Regions from separate parts of the Homo sapiens genome. Here all the other regions are linked to region 1. The links are contacts of gene promoters, found by promoter capture Hi-C in human tissues and cell types (Jung and others, 2019). All regions are on one chromosome and are shown on one strand. The core of a region is centred on a gene start or on the middle of the fragment in contact, and the rest is flanking DNA. Distances in the headings are between cores, read along the strand shown. Region 1 holds the start of ARHGEF7 (Rho guanine nucleotide exchange factor 7). Region 2 overlaps ARHGEF7 (Rho guanine nucleotide exchange factor 7). Region 3 overlaps ARHGEF7 (Rho guanine nucleotide exchange factor 7).

Evidence for each region. The method cuts DNA at HindIII sites, captures the fragments that hold promoters and counts their contacts. A contact is called where the count stands out against the background at its distance.
Region 2: a fragment that was not itself captured here is called in contact with the fragment with the promoter of ARHGEF7 in region 1 in 2 of the 25 tissues and cell types used here (heart right ventricle and spleen).
Region 3: a fragment that was not itself captured here is called in contact with the fragment with the promoter of ARHGEF7 in region 1 in 4 of the 25 tissues and cell types used here (aorta, dorsolateral prefrontal cortex, heart right ventricle and 1 more).

The regions. Positions count from the first base shown.
Region 1 is chr13:111,112,997-111,117,612 of GRCh38, forward strand. ARHGEF7 (Rho guanine nucleotide exchange factor 7) reads left to right here and starts at 2,314. Exons shown (of 22, transcript NM_001354046.2): 1 at 2,314-2,695. The coding sequence starts at 2,531. ARHGEF7-AS2 (ARHGEF7 antisense RNA 2) reads right to left here and starts at 2,682. Exons shown (of 2, transcript NR_046667.1): 1 at 2,551-2,682; 2 at 816-1,922. RefSeq lists a silencer at 2,187-2,276. The HindIII fragment of the contact is 8,096 bases long and covers 1,149-4,616 here.
Region 2 is chr13:111,223,555-111,228,170 of GRCh38, forward strand. All of the region lies in intron 5 of ARHGEF7 (Rho guanine nucleotide exchange factor 7), which reads left to right. Among named protein-coding and RNA genes, the nearest start is that of ARHGEF7-AS1, 77 kb to the left of the region's middle. The HindIII fragment of the contact is 8,988 bases long and covers 1-4,616 here.
Region 3 is chr13:111,183,752-111,188,367 of GRCh38, forward strand. All of the region lies in intron 2 of ARHGEF7 (Rho guanine nucleotide exchange factor 7), which reads left to right. Among named protein-coding and RNA genes, the nearest start is that of ARHGEF7-AS1, 37 kb to the left of the region's middle. RefSeq lists enhancers at 389-528, 989-1,118, 1,219-1,478. The HindIII fragment of the contact is 3,787 bases long and covers 659-4,445 here.

The sequences.
Region 1 (4,616 bases), core at 1,064-3,563:
ATCTGATTGTCCAGCTTAAGTTTGGAGTGAATTTTGCCTTATTTTTTAGATTTTGGCATTTTTATAGTGACCCCACACACGCTGAGTTGGCAGGGTTCAGCTGAGCTTTGGGTGGTAACTGGTTTGCAGTAGGGTTTGTGCGTGAACTCCTAACAGTGATGTGGAAGGTGCCTACCAGGCACTAGCAAGCAGCCAAGCTGGGTGTGAGGCTGACATTCTCTCATTAGAAACGAAGGAAGCGAAGCCACAGGCTTGCGTGGAAAGCCATTCTCCACCTCTTGAGGCAAGTCCAGAGGAGAGCCACAGAAAGGGCTAAACTTCCCCTTAGACAATAGTCTTAACTCGAGCTAACCCAATAGCCCAAAAGTGATGGGCACCAGATTGCACTCCGCGTGGCCTCTGTAATAGGAACCTGGAAAAGTGCTAAGGAAAGTTTAACCAAAATGCCCACTTTGGATACTAAAACAACTCAATTAAGCACCTAAAAATATCTAGCTTTGAGCAATGTTACTTTCTAAAATCCCTTCCAAGTAAACTCTTTTTCTGAAATTAATAAATACCCAACATAAAAGAACGCAACTAGTAACCATAAAGTGTTTAAAAGTCTGGGCTTCTCCCCACCAAGAAAAGACGAGTTGTAATACCTGGACTGTGGGTCTCCAGTCCGACAAGAATTGGCTCTCTGCTTCACTGGTCTCGTAAGGTCACTCCCTAGAATTGGCTTTCTATAGGACCATTTAATTGAGTCTATTTGAATCTTACTCAAGTCTACCACCTTATAAGTATCAAACCGAATTTAGTAGGATTCGAAATGGTAAGGACTGCATTAAATTATTTCTCTAATTCAGCAGTAAGGAAAGTGAACAGAAGTCTCGGTGTACAACCACGCCCCGGGTTGACATCTTTCCTTCCACGAAGACACTGGGTACAAGCCTTGATGTAGCTGTTAATTGCCCTCCTGTTTCCTAGAAAGCTTATAGGGCAGCAGTAGGAAACGGGTTAGGTATGCCTTTCCTGGTAGGAGCCGAGCTTTGGGTCTTATCTCTGCCACTTGTTCGGCATCTGATCAGTAAAAGGGGACCATGATGGGAGGCGAGGCAGTAGACAGCACTTTGTGACGGTTCCTAACCAGTCGCTGTTATCACTGAGCACATTGTCCTCGTAATCCAGAATTCATACTGCCATTTGAATATTTTTTGTATTTGCAAAGAAAATTTTAACCACTTAACTCAAGGCTAGAAATAAAAGCAATTAGTGATTGCAAGAGAAATCCACCGGCAGAAGGCAGGGGGAGACGACTTAAGCCTCTGATTATTTTTGGAAGCTTTATATGCTTTCTAGCCTTTGTCATTGAATGGATTAATGTATGTGCCTGGCATAGACTAAGTGCTTTGCTTGTTAAACTGCCCGCGGGTCATAGCGAGCAAACTGGGGGAGCGCCCAGGGACAGTGGATGGAGTGAGTGGAGACTCGTGTCCTTTTAAGAAGAGGCTCCATTTCTTCCTCGCATGTCAATGTGTGCGTGTCATCAGTTGTTCGAGGAAGCTCGCGCATGACGCGACACTTGCCGTCTGGGCTCTCCAGGTTCGGCCTGCTGCTTTCACAGCCCAGATCTTCGGCGTCCCCGAGACGCAGCCAGGCGCCCGGCCCGGCCCGGCCCGGCCCTCTGCACAGCCCCACTTCAGGCCACGCCGTTTCCTTGACCTTCCCCCGGCAGGGTCTGAAGCGTCACCGTCCGTCTAGAGCAGAGTCGCGCAGGCCCCTGCCCTGCCGGTGAGGTCGGCGCCGCGCTCCGGAGAGTCGGTTCCTCCCGATTCAGACCCATATGGCTTCAGATGGAACCATCATTTCTGTTCCGTCATGACCGGCTTGCAAGGTAGCAAAGCGAAACAAACGTCTCGTTTTCAGCCTGTCCCCGCCACCTTGAAATAAAACCGGCAAAAATAAAAAGAGCATTCTGGGAAGTACTTCATCATTTCAACGCTCACGAATTCAAAACATAAACAAAGGCTTCCGAGTGCCCCGGCCAGGGGCGCGGGGCGCACGGCGGGCCCGGGGCAGGTAAGCGCAGGTGCGCGCCCGCCCCCACCCCCGGCTCCCTCCCCATCCGCTCCCCGCTCCCCTTCCCCTTTCCCTTCCCCGCCCGCTCCCAGCCGCCGCCGCCGCCCCGCGCACGGCCTGGAGCGGAGGCTGCGCAGGGCGCGGGGCGGCGCGGGCCGGGCGCGGGCCGGGCGGACGGCCGCGTCTTTCTTCTCCTGGCGGTGATGTCATTGGGCGACGGCGGCCGAGGCCGGGGGGCGGCGGCGGGCGCCCGCAGGTTCCCGAGCCGCTCCTGAGAAGGCGCCTGACAGCGGGCCGGGGCGCACGGAGAAGCGGGCCGGGCCGGACCTGCTGGGCCGCGCCGAGCCAATCGCCGGCGCCGGCCGCTCGATGGGCGAGGCGGCGGCGGCGGCGGCGGGGGCCGCGGGCCGGGCCGCCGCTCCGAGGTGAAGGCGCGCGCCCCTCCCCGCCTGCCTCCCGGGCCGCAGCGATGAATTCCGCCGAGCAAACCGTTACGTGGCTCATCACTCTGGGGGTGCTGGAGTCGCCCAAAAAAACCATCTCGGACCCGGAGGGCTTTCTGCAGGCGTCGCTGAAGGATGGGGTGGTCCTCTGCAGGCTGCTGGAGCGCCTGCTCCCCGGGACCATCGAGAAAGTAAGTCCCGGCCCGCGCCCCCGCCCGCGCCCCCCGGTCCGGCCCGCTGCGGCCCGGGATGCGCGCGGAGCACCTGAGGCCGGCCGCGCTCGGGAAACCCGTGCGCCCTCCTTTGTGCGCGGAGCGGCGGCGCGGCCGGCGCCAGGACCGTGGCGGGAGCTCGGGGGGCGCCATTGTGTGCGGGGCAGGGGGAGGGGGCCGGGGAGCGGGGTCGGGGGGAGGGGCGGCGCGGGCGGCGGGGGTCCCCGGGAAGGAGAGTGCACCGCAGCGAGGAGACGGGGCTTCTGCGCCGCCCGAACGCTAAGTTGCCCCTCCGCGTGGGGGGCCGGCCCCGCTCCCTGGCAGCAGCCGCATCGGAAACCGCGTTCCGACGCGGTGCGGCTCACTCCGCTGGCTTTGTGTGGACAGTTCTTGCCGGTGGCGTTGCGTGAGTTTCGCCTCCCAGGTTAATTGACCGGTTGCTCTGTATTTTTAAAGAGGCACGCATCTGTAGCTGAGGGCTGCGCTGTGAAACGATCTACTACTTTCCCCTCGAGAAAATTCCCCACCTATCCGAGCCGAGAGGACGGCAGACACAGGGTCTAAGTCCTGGCACTCTTCAAGGCTTGTTAAAATTCTAGATTTCGTTCTCAGGTCCCTCCCTCGTTCTGAACAGAACCTTTAGTCCTGCAGGCACTGCTTCTCCCTTCCGGCTGGTGGTTCCCAGGCTGGAGCGTGTGAACCCTGACCCGAATCTCTGGAAGTGATTAAAGTTTGTTTTCATCGCCCACAAGCCGGCCAGCAGGGCCGAGGAGGCAGGAGAGTTTCTAAAAACGATGTCTCCCTGTAGCTCAAAATACTAAAATCTTATTCCCAGGGTGTTTCTTCGGGGGGTGGGGTGGGGGTGGGGGTGGCCAATATATAGCGTTAAGATCAACAGTTATTTAAAAGGTGTTAAATATAGAAATTGAAGTGTACCATAATTAGGAAGAAGGATTTCAGTTTTTAAGTGGGGTGTATTGGCCCCCATACAGGATGACAACAACTTGTAAATAAAATGCCACGTAAGTGACTTGAAAAAGTAAAATGTTTAATTTTTTTCATTCACATGTACATATTCTCTTGCTACATTTTAAATGAGGTCAGAAAACATTTTATTTAATATGAATTTGGCTTGCATTCCACTTTTAGCTATTTTTCTTACTTGGAACATCTTTATGAAAACAGAATCTGCATATTAGAGTGAATGGCTGCCTGCCTGTCCATGAAATAAAAATGTTCCTTAAAAATGAACCTGATGTCACAGTGAAATTATGATTTAAGACAGGAGGACTGAGGAGCAGGAGCTGACTTTCAAGGCATTCAAAATACTTTGCTGTTTGGATACTGGTACCTCTGGTAATGAAAGACAGATGTTGAAAAGTGTTGAAATGCATGCAAAGTTCACCAAAATAGGCTTAAATAAAATTCTGTTCCATCCCTAAGAGCAAAGCTTTAAGAAGTGTCATATGCTGTATTGATAAAAACATGTCGCCATCAAAGAATATGTTGTTTGGCATATTAACTGTATTAATATTGATTGGCCGACTTCAATAATCATTTTCTTTTAAATTATAGAAAGATTTTCCTAGAAAACCGTAGCGTTCATTTCATCTCTAAAACAACAAAGAGAAGAACGAATAAAATGTTGAGCTTGCAGAAGCCAAGTTGAAACAACTCAACATATTCTAAAACTACAGTCATCTGGAAATTTCTTAGGTCAGAGCTGTTTTTGATTCCCCCTGAGCTCCAGTTGGTTTGTGTTAAACTGACTCTGTCACAATGAAAGTTTAATGTGAAGGCAGCGTATTGTAGACACAGTTACTGGTTCTCTGGAGTTCAAAGGTAGGTTTTTGGAGTAAAATATTAGCCGTTTTCTGCCTCTGAGATCCCTGTGTTTCAG
Region 2 (4,616 bases), core at 1,124-3,623, 110 kb after region 1:
GTGTAGCCATTGGTGGTTTGCCCTCTTGTGGTCGGAGATGGAATTGTTCTTGTCAAGGTTCACCGTTGTGTTGGTGCTTTTAACCTGTGGTGTAGGATTTCTTGTTTGAATAGTCCCTCTTTGAAGACAGATAAAATGTTCTAGGATTCTGTAATAACGATCTTTCTAATGCTTGTGTCAAAAGCATTGTATATTATTCCTGAATATGTACAGTACAGTCTTATGGAAGGTAAATAATTGTCACTTAGCATTTATTTTCTGTGCACCTTTTTTGGTTAGGTAAAACCCATGGATTTCTATAGCATTTTTTTTTTTTTTTTGAGACAGAGTCTTGCTCTGTTGCCCAGGCTGGAGTGCAGTGGCATAATCTCAGCTCACTGCAACCTCCACCTCCTGGGTTCAAGCGATTCTCCTACCCCAGCCTCCCAAGTAGCTGGGATTACAGGTGCCCGCCACCACGCCCGGCTAATTTGTGTATTTTTAGTAGAGACAGGGTTTCACCATGTCAGCCAGGCTGGCCTCGAACACCTGACCTTGTCATCTGCCCGCCTCAGCCTCCCAAAGTGCTGGGATTACAGGCATGAGCCACCGCAGCCAGCGTCTACAGCATTTTTTACAGGCTGATATGTATTTGTGTTTCACACCCACCCACCCACCCTCACTCTTACTCCCTTGCTTCAGAATTTCCTAAATTCAAGGGAGAAGTTAAGGAGAGAAGCAGCAAGGTCCATTCTGGAAGTGAGTGGTGATGGTGGTTGCTGTGATTGGATAGAAGTGGAGGCACTCAGCTGCATGTGGCACACACGGTTAGCAGCTGTGAGAACACACCTCGTGCTCTGTGTGCTTCCAAGACCAGTTTTCTGTGTGTGCATGTGGACTCAGGCTTTTTTAGATGATTATTTCTAATGTGCTGACTTTAGTCATTCTCCTATTTCTGGACAGCTTATTATCTGTTGTAAAGACATTTCTTTTAAATGCTGTTTTGGGGGCTGGTTAGCTTGAGATGATGACTGTCTGTGTTTGGCAGTGATGTGAGAGCTTAAATGGGACTGTCATTTGCTGATCCACAGATCTTTAACGACATTGCCACTTTTTAAGTTGGTCACTTTTAAATATTTTTTACTTATTTTTGACATAAAGCAACACGCAGCTGAATTTTGGATGTCGTTATTAATTTAGCTGTGGAGGAACAGTGTTTGATGTGAGTATAATCTGTGCGGGGAAAAGGACAAAAGTACCCCAGAACCTTGCCTTCCTTCGTGCCACTGGATGTGAGCTTGTGCTGTAGTCCTTCCTCCTCTCCGGTGAGGATTGGGTTTGGATGGGACACATGAGGCTGCATTACAGGATGGACCTCTCAGCACTATTGTTTCAAGATGTAATTGTTTTTAAACAAGAGAGAAGAACATAAATTAGAAGATATGGGCCCCCCGAGGCAGGCGTAGGGAGCGTATTATAGCATTATGTACAAAGGGGTCTTGGAGTAGATGGTTTGGAAATGTTTCTGGCGTGTGAAAGTGAATATTTTCCTAGATTGGTATACCGAGCATGTCCTCACTGCAATGTGGCTGCCTCCCGTTGTCGGTGATGATTACACATCTTCCGTTTCAGGAGCACGTCCCATAGACCAGCTGACTTAGAGTAATTAGGGGTCAGGTTGTTAGTCTTCCAGTATTAGAGCTTCTCTTTTTTAAAAAAGTTTTATTTGCATTTATGCTTAAGTAATTGTATTACTTACATGCCACATGCTTGTAGCATGTGATAGCCAGTAGACGGAAGAGCTCATGTGGGGAAGAGCACAGGCCACCCACTCCCACAGCCCTGATCCAGGGAGAGGCGTTACTCACCTCCTCTCCTCTCCTACGTAGCTGCCTCGCAACTCTTCACAGTATGCAGAGACTTCTCTGCTTAGATTTATAGGGCGTATCTCACTTTATTGCACTTTGCTTGTTTTTTTGTTTTTTTTTTTTTCTCTTACAAATGGAAGGCTTGTGGCAACACTGTTGGTGCCATTTTTCCAGCACCATGTGCCCACTTGTCCCAGTGCTTCATTTGGGTAATTCTTGCACGATTTCACAGCTTTTCATTATTGTATCCGTTATGGTGATCTGTGATCAGGGACCTTTGGTGTTACTGTTAGAATTGTTTTGGGGTGCCATGAACCATGCCCATGTAAGATGGCAGACTTAATTGATAAATGTTGTGTGTATTCTGACTGCCCTACTGACCGGGAATTCCCCATGTTTTTCCCCAGGCCACTCATTCCCTGAGACACAAAAATACTGAAATTAAACCAGTTTATAACCTTACTATGGCCTCTTAAGTGTTCAAATGAAAGGAAGAGTTGCATGTCTCTCACTTTAAATAAAAAGCTAGAAACGATTAACCTTAGTGAGGAAGGCATGTAGAAAGGTGAGACAGGCTGAAAGCTAGGCCTGTTGCACCAGTCAGTCGTGAATACAAATGAAAAGCTCTTGAAGGAAATTATAAGTGCTACTCCAGTGAACACATGAATGATAAGCAATGAAACCACCTTATTGCTGATATGGAGAAAGTTTGAGTGGTGTGGATAGAAGATCAAACCAGCCACAACATTTCCTTAAGGGCAAAGCCTAATCTCTTCAATTCTATGAAGACTGAGAGGTGAGGAAGCTGCAGAAAAAGAGTTTGAAGCTAATGGAGGTTAGTGCATGAGGTTGAAGGAAAGAAGCCGTCTCCAGAACATGATGAAAGTGCAGGGTGAAGCAGCACGTGCTGACGGAGAAGCTGCAGCAAGTCATCCAGAAGATCTAGCTGACATCATCGGTGAAGGTGGCCACACCAACAGGCTGACTCTCTGGTCTGGGGTTAATGTAGCTGGTGACTGAGTTGAAGCCAATTCTCATTTACCATTCTGAAAATCCTAGTACCCTTAAGAATTATGCTTAACCAACTTTGCCTCTCTGCGCTGTAAGTTAGAACAACAAAGCCTGGATGGTGGCACATCTGCTTGTGTCATGGTTTGCTGAATATTTTAAGCCCACTTTAGAGACCTCCCACTCAGGAAAAAAAGATTCCCTTGAGCATGTTACTGCTTATTGACAGTGTACCTAATCACCCAAGAGCTTTGAGGGAGACATACAAAGAAATTAATGTTGTTTTCATGCTGCTAACACAGCATCCATACTGCAGCTCATGGGTCAAGGATTAATTTAGATTTTTGGGTCTTAGCATTTAAGGAATACATTTTGTAAGGCCATAAATAGTGGTTCCTCTAATGGATCTAGGCAAAGTAATTTGAAAACCTTCTGGAAAGGATTTACCCCTTTAGATGCTGTTAAGAACATTTGTGATTTATGGGAGGAGGTTAAAATATCAACATCAACAGGAGTTTGGAAGACATTGATTCTAACCCTGATGGATGACCTTAGGGCCTCAGGACTTCAGTTTAGGAAGGAACTACCTGTGTGGTGGGAACAGCAAGAGAACTAAAATTGGAAGTGGAGCCTGGAGATGTGACTGAACTGCTGCAGTCTCATGAGAAAACTTGAATGGATGAAGAGTTGCTCCTTATGGCTGAGCAAAGAATGTGGTTTCTTGAAATAGAATCTACCCTTGCTGAAGTGCCGTGAACATTGTTGAAATAACAAAAGATTTAGACTGTTGCAAAAAGTTAGTTGATAAAGTGGTAGCAGGGTTTGAGAAGATTGACTCTTAATTTTGTAAGAAGTTGTATGTGTGTAAAATGCTACCAAATAGCATCTCACGCTCCAGAGAAATCTTTCATGAAAGGAAGAATCAGTTGATACTGGCACACTTCATTGTCTTGTTTCAAGAAGTGTCCATAGCCACCGCAGCCTTCTGCAGCCACTGATCAGTCAGCAGCCATCCATATCAAGGCAAGACCCTCTACAAAGAGATTACAGCTTGCTGAAGGCTCAGATGATTGTTAGCATTTTTTTAGAAACTTTTTTTTTAACTAAGGAATGTACTTTTTTTAAAGACAGTGCAATTGCAAACTTAATAGACTACAGTATAGTGTAAACATAGCTTTTATATGCAGTAGGAAACAAATTTGTGTGACTCACTGTATTGCCATGGTCTGAAACCAAGCCCTCAGCAACTTCAGGGTCTCCCTGTGTACCCCGTTTGACTTACCTTCTTCCTCCTACTTTCTTCTAGGTTTGTTCTTTGTGATTAATTTGTTCTTCTGTTGGTTTCCTCTGTTGGTGTGCTAAACGAGATGCTTTAGTCTTATTTGTATTTCAGTGACATTTGGCAGATACCTCCTGATGCCCCATTTTGTTCCGTGAAGATTCACCTTGACCCTTTTCTCTATCCTCCCACATTCTGCCTTTACTCACCTGTATCTTCCTGTTGCATTGTCAAGGTTGTTCACAGTTACACCAGTTACACTTGGCTCTAAAGCCACACCCAGCATCCATTCCCCAAATACTTACTTTGGTGAGCACTGTTGTGGAAACTGAGAAACACAGCAGTGGGAAAACCAAGAGTGTCTTCCCAGAAGTTATGAAGCACATCTGAGGTGTCCTGCACGGCACATGAGGTAAGCGTGCAGGTCTGTGCTCTCTGCTCTCTACTGGCATCCAAAAAAGAGGAGGGGGCGCTTTTATAGA
Region 3 (4,616 bases), core at 1,302-3,801, 71 kb after region 1:
CCCAATTTTTGCTAATTGTACCGGTTTTATAATTTTCAATTTTTTAGTAGTCACCTTTTAACTGTATTTCTAGTATTTCTTGACTTGTCATCTTAGACTTCTCTCCTGTGTAAAAGATGAGGAGCTCTGTAAGTCTCCACCAGGACTTGTGGGGAAGGGTTGACGGGGGTCACTTGCTTATGGCCGGGTGCGGGTGGGACTGCATTTTTTAACCCTCTCTGTGTGGTTGGGGTAGGATGGTGTTATGGTGTGACTCTGTCCCCACCCAAATCTCACCTTGAATTATAATAATCCCCACCTGTCAAGGGCGGGACCAGGTGGAGATAATTGAATCACGGGTTGGTTTCCCCGCCGTTCTCATGATCGTGAATTAGTTCTCACGAGATCTGATGGTTTTATAAGGGGCTTCCCCTGCTTTGCCTGGCACTCATTCTCTCTCGTTGTCCTGTGAAGAGGTGCCTTTTGCCGTGATTGTAAGTTCCCTGAGGCCTCCCCAGCTATGTGTAACTGTGAGCCAGTTAAACCTCTTTTCTTTATAAATTACCCAGCCTTGGGTATTTCTTCATAGCAGCGTGAGAACGGACTAATACAGATGGTTATTGTTGAAGTTTTTTGACCTACTAGGCTGCCCTGTCCTGGTCCTTTGGCTAGAGAGGATAGGTCTTTCTTGAGGCTTTTCTTCTGTACCTGTTGGTGTTTCTGGGTTGCTGGCTTGTTTAGCACTCAGTTTGGAGCATTTGAGGCAAAAAGAAAACCCAGAGAACCCGCTGGCATGGTTCCCAGCCCTGAAACCCTTAGCCGGTCTGCCTCCTCTCTCACATTCTGAGGCTGACGTTTGTTTTATAGGCAGCATCCAGGGCTTTTAGCTGCATTCAGCTGGAGGGAGGGGGAGATGTGTCTTCTCCATCTTTTTGGGAGTCATAGGTCAGTTCTCTTTGTGCTATGCTGTTATTTCCTATCAGGTGTGGCCTTGATGGGTTCTTCCTGTTTGTGAATAAAAGCCCAGTTGACTGGCATCAGAGCGGAGGGGACTGTGCAGTCCTGTGTGTGGGTTACCGGCCCCGTGGGCTTCACTGTGCGGGTTGTGTGTCTGGGAGCAGGTGGGGAGAACCGGATGGAGGGCTCTAGAAGCAGCTACACGAGCAGAGCTGAGGGAGACACTTTCTCTGCACCTGTTTCCTGTGTCACACTTCAGATGGGGGATAGTCCAGGCTGGTGGTGGAGCTCCCAGGGGATTTCGCTTCTGGGTAGAATTGTCATTTTTTTTTTTCCTCAGAGACTGTTGTGTGGGCCTAGTGGTGCATCAGGTTCCGGTTAGAATCCAGTGCAGGCCGCAGGCTTCTCTTTAATTAGAGAGGGTCACTTCACCTCCGGTTAGAATCCAGTGCAGGCAGCAGCTTCTTTTTAATTAGAGAGGGGTCTGGGTGCTGAGCTTCCCATCAGGAAGAAGGGGCTGTCGTGCTGAAGTCCTGAGGTGGGTCACGTGTCCCTTCCTGTGTTAGAAAACCGTCTTTGGTGCTCCTGGGGCTCCCTTACAAGTGCTGTTCTGAACTGTTAGGTCATTCAGAGTCCATCTGCGTCCTGTCCCCAGGGATCTCCTCAAACCCTGTTTAGACTGCTCATAGCCTTTCCCTTTTTAGCACTACAGCGGGTTCTTTCTCTGTTAATTTTTTGAAGCTTTTTCTTTCTCTCATTTCGGTGGCACCTTGGGAGGGATGGGAGTTAGATAGGTGTTTGCAGTGGGCCATCTTGAGAAACTTCTCAAAACTGGAGTCTTGTAACTGCTTGCATTTTGAAGTTAATGGAATGGGCGCATTGCCTTTATAGCTGTAAATGTTACTGCTTCACTTACTGTTAGCCCAAGCCAGTGTGTTGCATCTGCCCAGATCCTTCTTTGTGGTATGTGCTCACTTTCTGGCGACAGCCAGGCTGTTCTTTGCAGGCATGTGCTCCTAGCAGTCGAAGACAGAAGTTTGGGGGCCTGTGTAGGCTGTATGGGCTGCTGTGTGTGTGTACGTGGTGAGTTGTGTCTGAGACCACCCCTCCTCCCCTGGGTGCTGCCTGATCTGCCTGCATGACCGCTGTGGGACACCACTGTCTCTGGTGTCCTTTCCTGGCTGGCAGTGTGGTGGTGTGGGCAAAGCCAGGCTGGTGGGCTCCGATCTTGGTTCTGCCTTTGTAAGCTTTGTCACACTGTCTTTTGGGAGCTCGTGTGTGTGTGTGTGTGTGTGTGTGTGTGTGTGTGTGTGTGTGTTTTCGTTTTCTGCCTGTAAGATAAACTGGCATGCAGTCTACACTGAGGTACGGGCTGTGTGGGCCAGCACAGCATGCCGTGGTCCTAAGCAGGGAGGTGTCCTTCCTTTCCCCTGCCTGTTGGGGCTGCGCTTCCCTGCCTCGTGTGGAGGTTGCGCCCGGTCTGCAGAAGGCAGAGAGCATCTTGTTGGGAAGAGCCCTGCCTGCCTTCCCGTTGCTGTGCTCCTGCCTCCCTGCTCTGCTCCTCTCACCCCTTCCTGGAAACTACCTAAAATACTTGGTTACTTCTTTTTTGAAGATGTATTCTCTGTCCTAGTGTTTGGGTGTTGATACAGTGGAATCCACAAAATTGAATAAGATTTGATTTTCATTTTAAAGTGAAATAAATCATTTGGGTGCATGTTGGGTGAAAGTGCCGTAATTGATAGCATCCGTCATCAGACTTTAATTTTACCCCTGGGGTGTAGGAGTGGGTGGGATTAAGTACAAAATCTGCAGAAGCCAGGAAGTGAAAACGTACTGCTGGATTTCTGTTTTTCACATGTCCCCAACAATATGGACCATTTGCATTAAACTTAAATAGCACCACTTATTTAAGATTCATTTTTTACTCTTGTTCTGAAATCACAAGTTCCATTTGACAGTGATAGGACAAAATTATATTTTTAAACTTTGCAAACCACACTCCAGAGCTGTGCTAAAAATAACAATTTCTTGTGTCAAGAATAACTTTCTCAAGTTCCTGGAGGAGGCGAGCTGACTGGTGGCAACGCAGACCACTAAAGCTTCAGTGAGCCCAGAAAGTGTGCGCTCAGTCCCACATTGCAGAGGCCTCTCCGTCAGTATTGAGATGGTGGAAAGTGAGGAGAAGCAAAAAGACGACTACTTCTTTCCCCATTTCCCGGTCTGGTCTTTTTGGGGTCTACTACGTAGAGGTGCATCAGCCAGCGCTACCATGGAGGCAGGAGGCATTCTTTTGCTCTCGTGTCAGTACTGACGGGGTTGATTAAGGTTGCTGTGCTTGTTGGTGTGGGTATTGGGAGGGTGGTGTGAAAGCAGTTGGGCTGGAATAGAGCTGGTCAGTGTGTCCTTTTGCGTGCATTTGTGTGGCCCTAGTGCTACAGTGGTGTCCCTTAGCTCTGGGGGACTGTCTGAATTTTTGTGCTCTAAATTATTAATACATGTTTATGTGTGGGTTTGCCAGAATGCTGTGTCCGTTATTGTTGGCTCCTTGGACAGCTCTCCTTGTTCTGCTTCACTGGCTGTGAAATTGGTTCACGTGGTGGGCTCTGGGTCCAGCGAGATGCATCTGAGGTGTTGACCTGGTGGTGTGGGCCTGGGGCTGCCAGTGGTCCTGTTGCCTGATGAGGGAGACCGTTCCTGAAACTGTGGCGCACACTCAGGAGAGTAGGAAAGAGAGCGGAGAAAGCCTTCCGGTTCTGAGCTTGTGGCTCTTGCCATTCCTGACTTGTTTGTTGTGCGAACCAATAATTTCCTTTTTTTGTTTAAGCCAATTTGAGTTGGGTTTACTTGCTTGTAGTGGAAAGGTTCTGACACAGGATCTTTATTATATGAAGTATTTTCATAATGTACATTGTGTTATATATTAGACATATCACACGATCTATTTTGTGATGTAGTTTGCTTTGCTGTTTTTATTCTGTGGAAGATATTCCTGAATTTCTACACTTCCTATGAATTTGGAAGTGGGGTGAGGCAAAGTCACTAATATCGGGGTATCAGTAGGGGAGCCTTTCGAATCCCAAACATTGGAGTGTCCTTCTGTGACCCGTTTCTTTGTCAACTTTTGTCCGCTAGGCAGAGTGGCTGTGACATCTGACATCCAGTGTGAAGGTGTGGTCACTCAGCTGGAAGAGAAAAACCTAGCACTCTGAGAGTGGGTGGATCTGCTGGTGATTTTCAAGCAATGTCTTCCCGTTTTTGGATGCTCATCCCTTCTGTAGTTGGAGCCTTGTTCTCTTTTCCTTGAGTACAGGTGGGGCTGATGACTCATTTCTTATGAACCGAGCACAGCCTGCCTGACTGCTGAGGCTAGCTCATAGGATTCCTGAAGCTGCAGGCCCTGCTTTCCTTCCTGCGTGTGCCCTGGGATCACTCGCTCTGTGGAGTCCGTTGTCCGTTCTCTGAGGACTCAGGAACTGAGGCCTCCTGCTCACAGCCACGCTGTGGAGCTGTCTTGGTAGCACCTCCTCAGTCCCTGCAAGGCCTTAGGCTGCCAGAATCCCACAGCTTCAGCTGACATCTCAACGACCTCCCCTGAGACCCAGAGCCACATTCACCCAGCTAAGCTGCCCTGAACGCTGACACGCAGAAACTGAGATAACAGATGCTTGTTGTTTGGG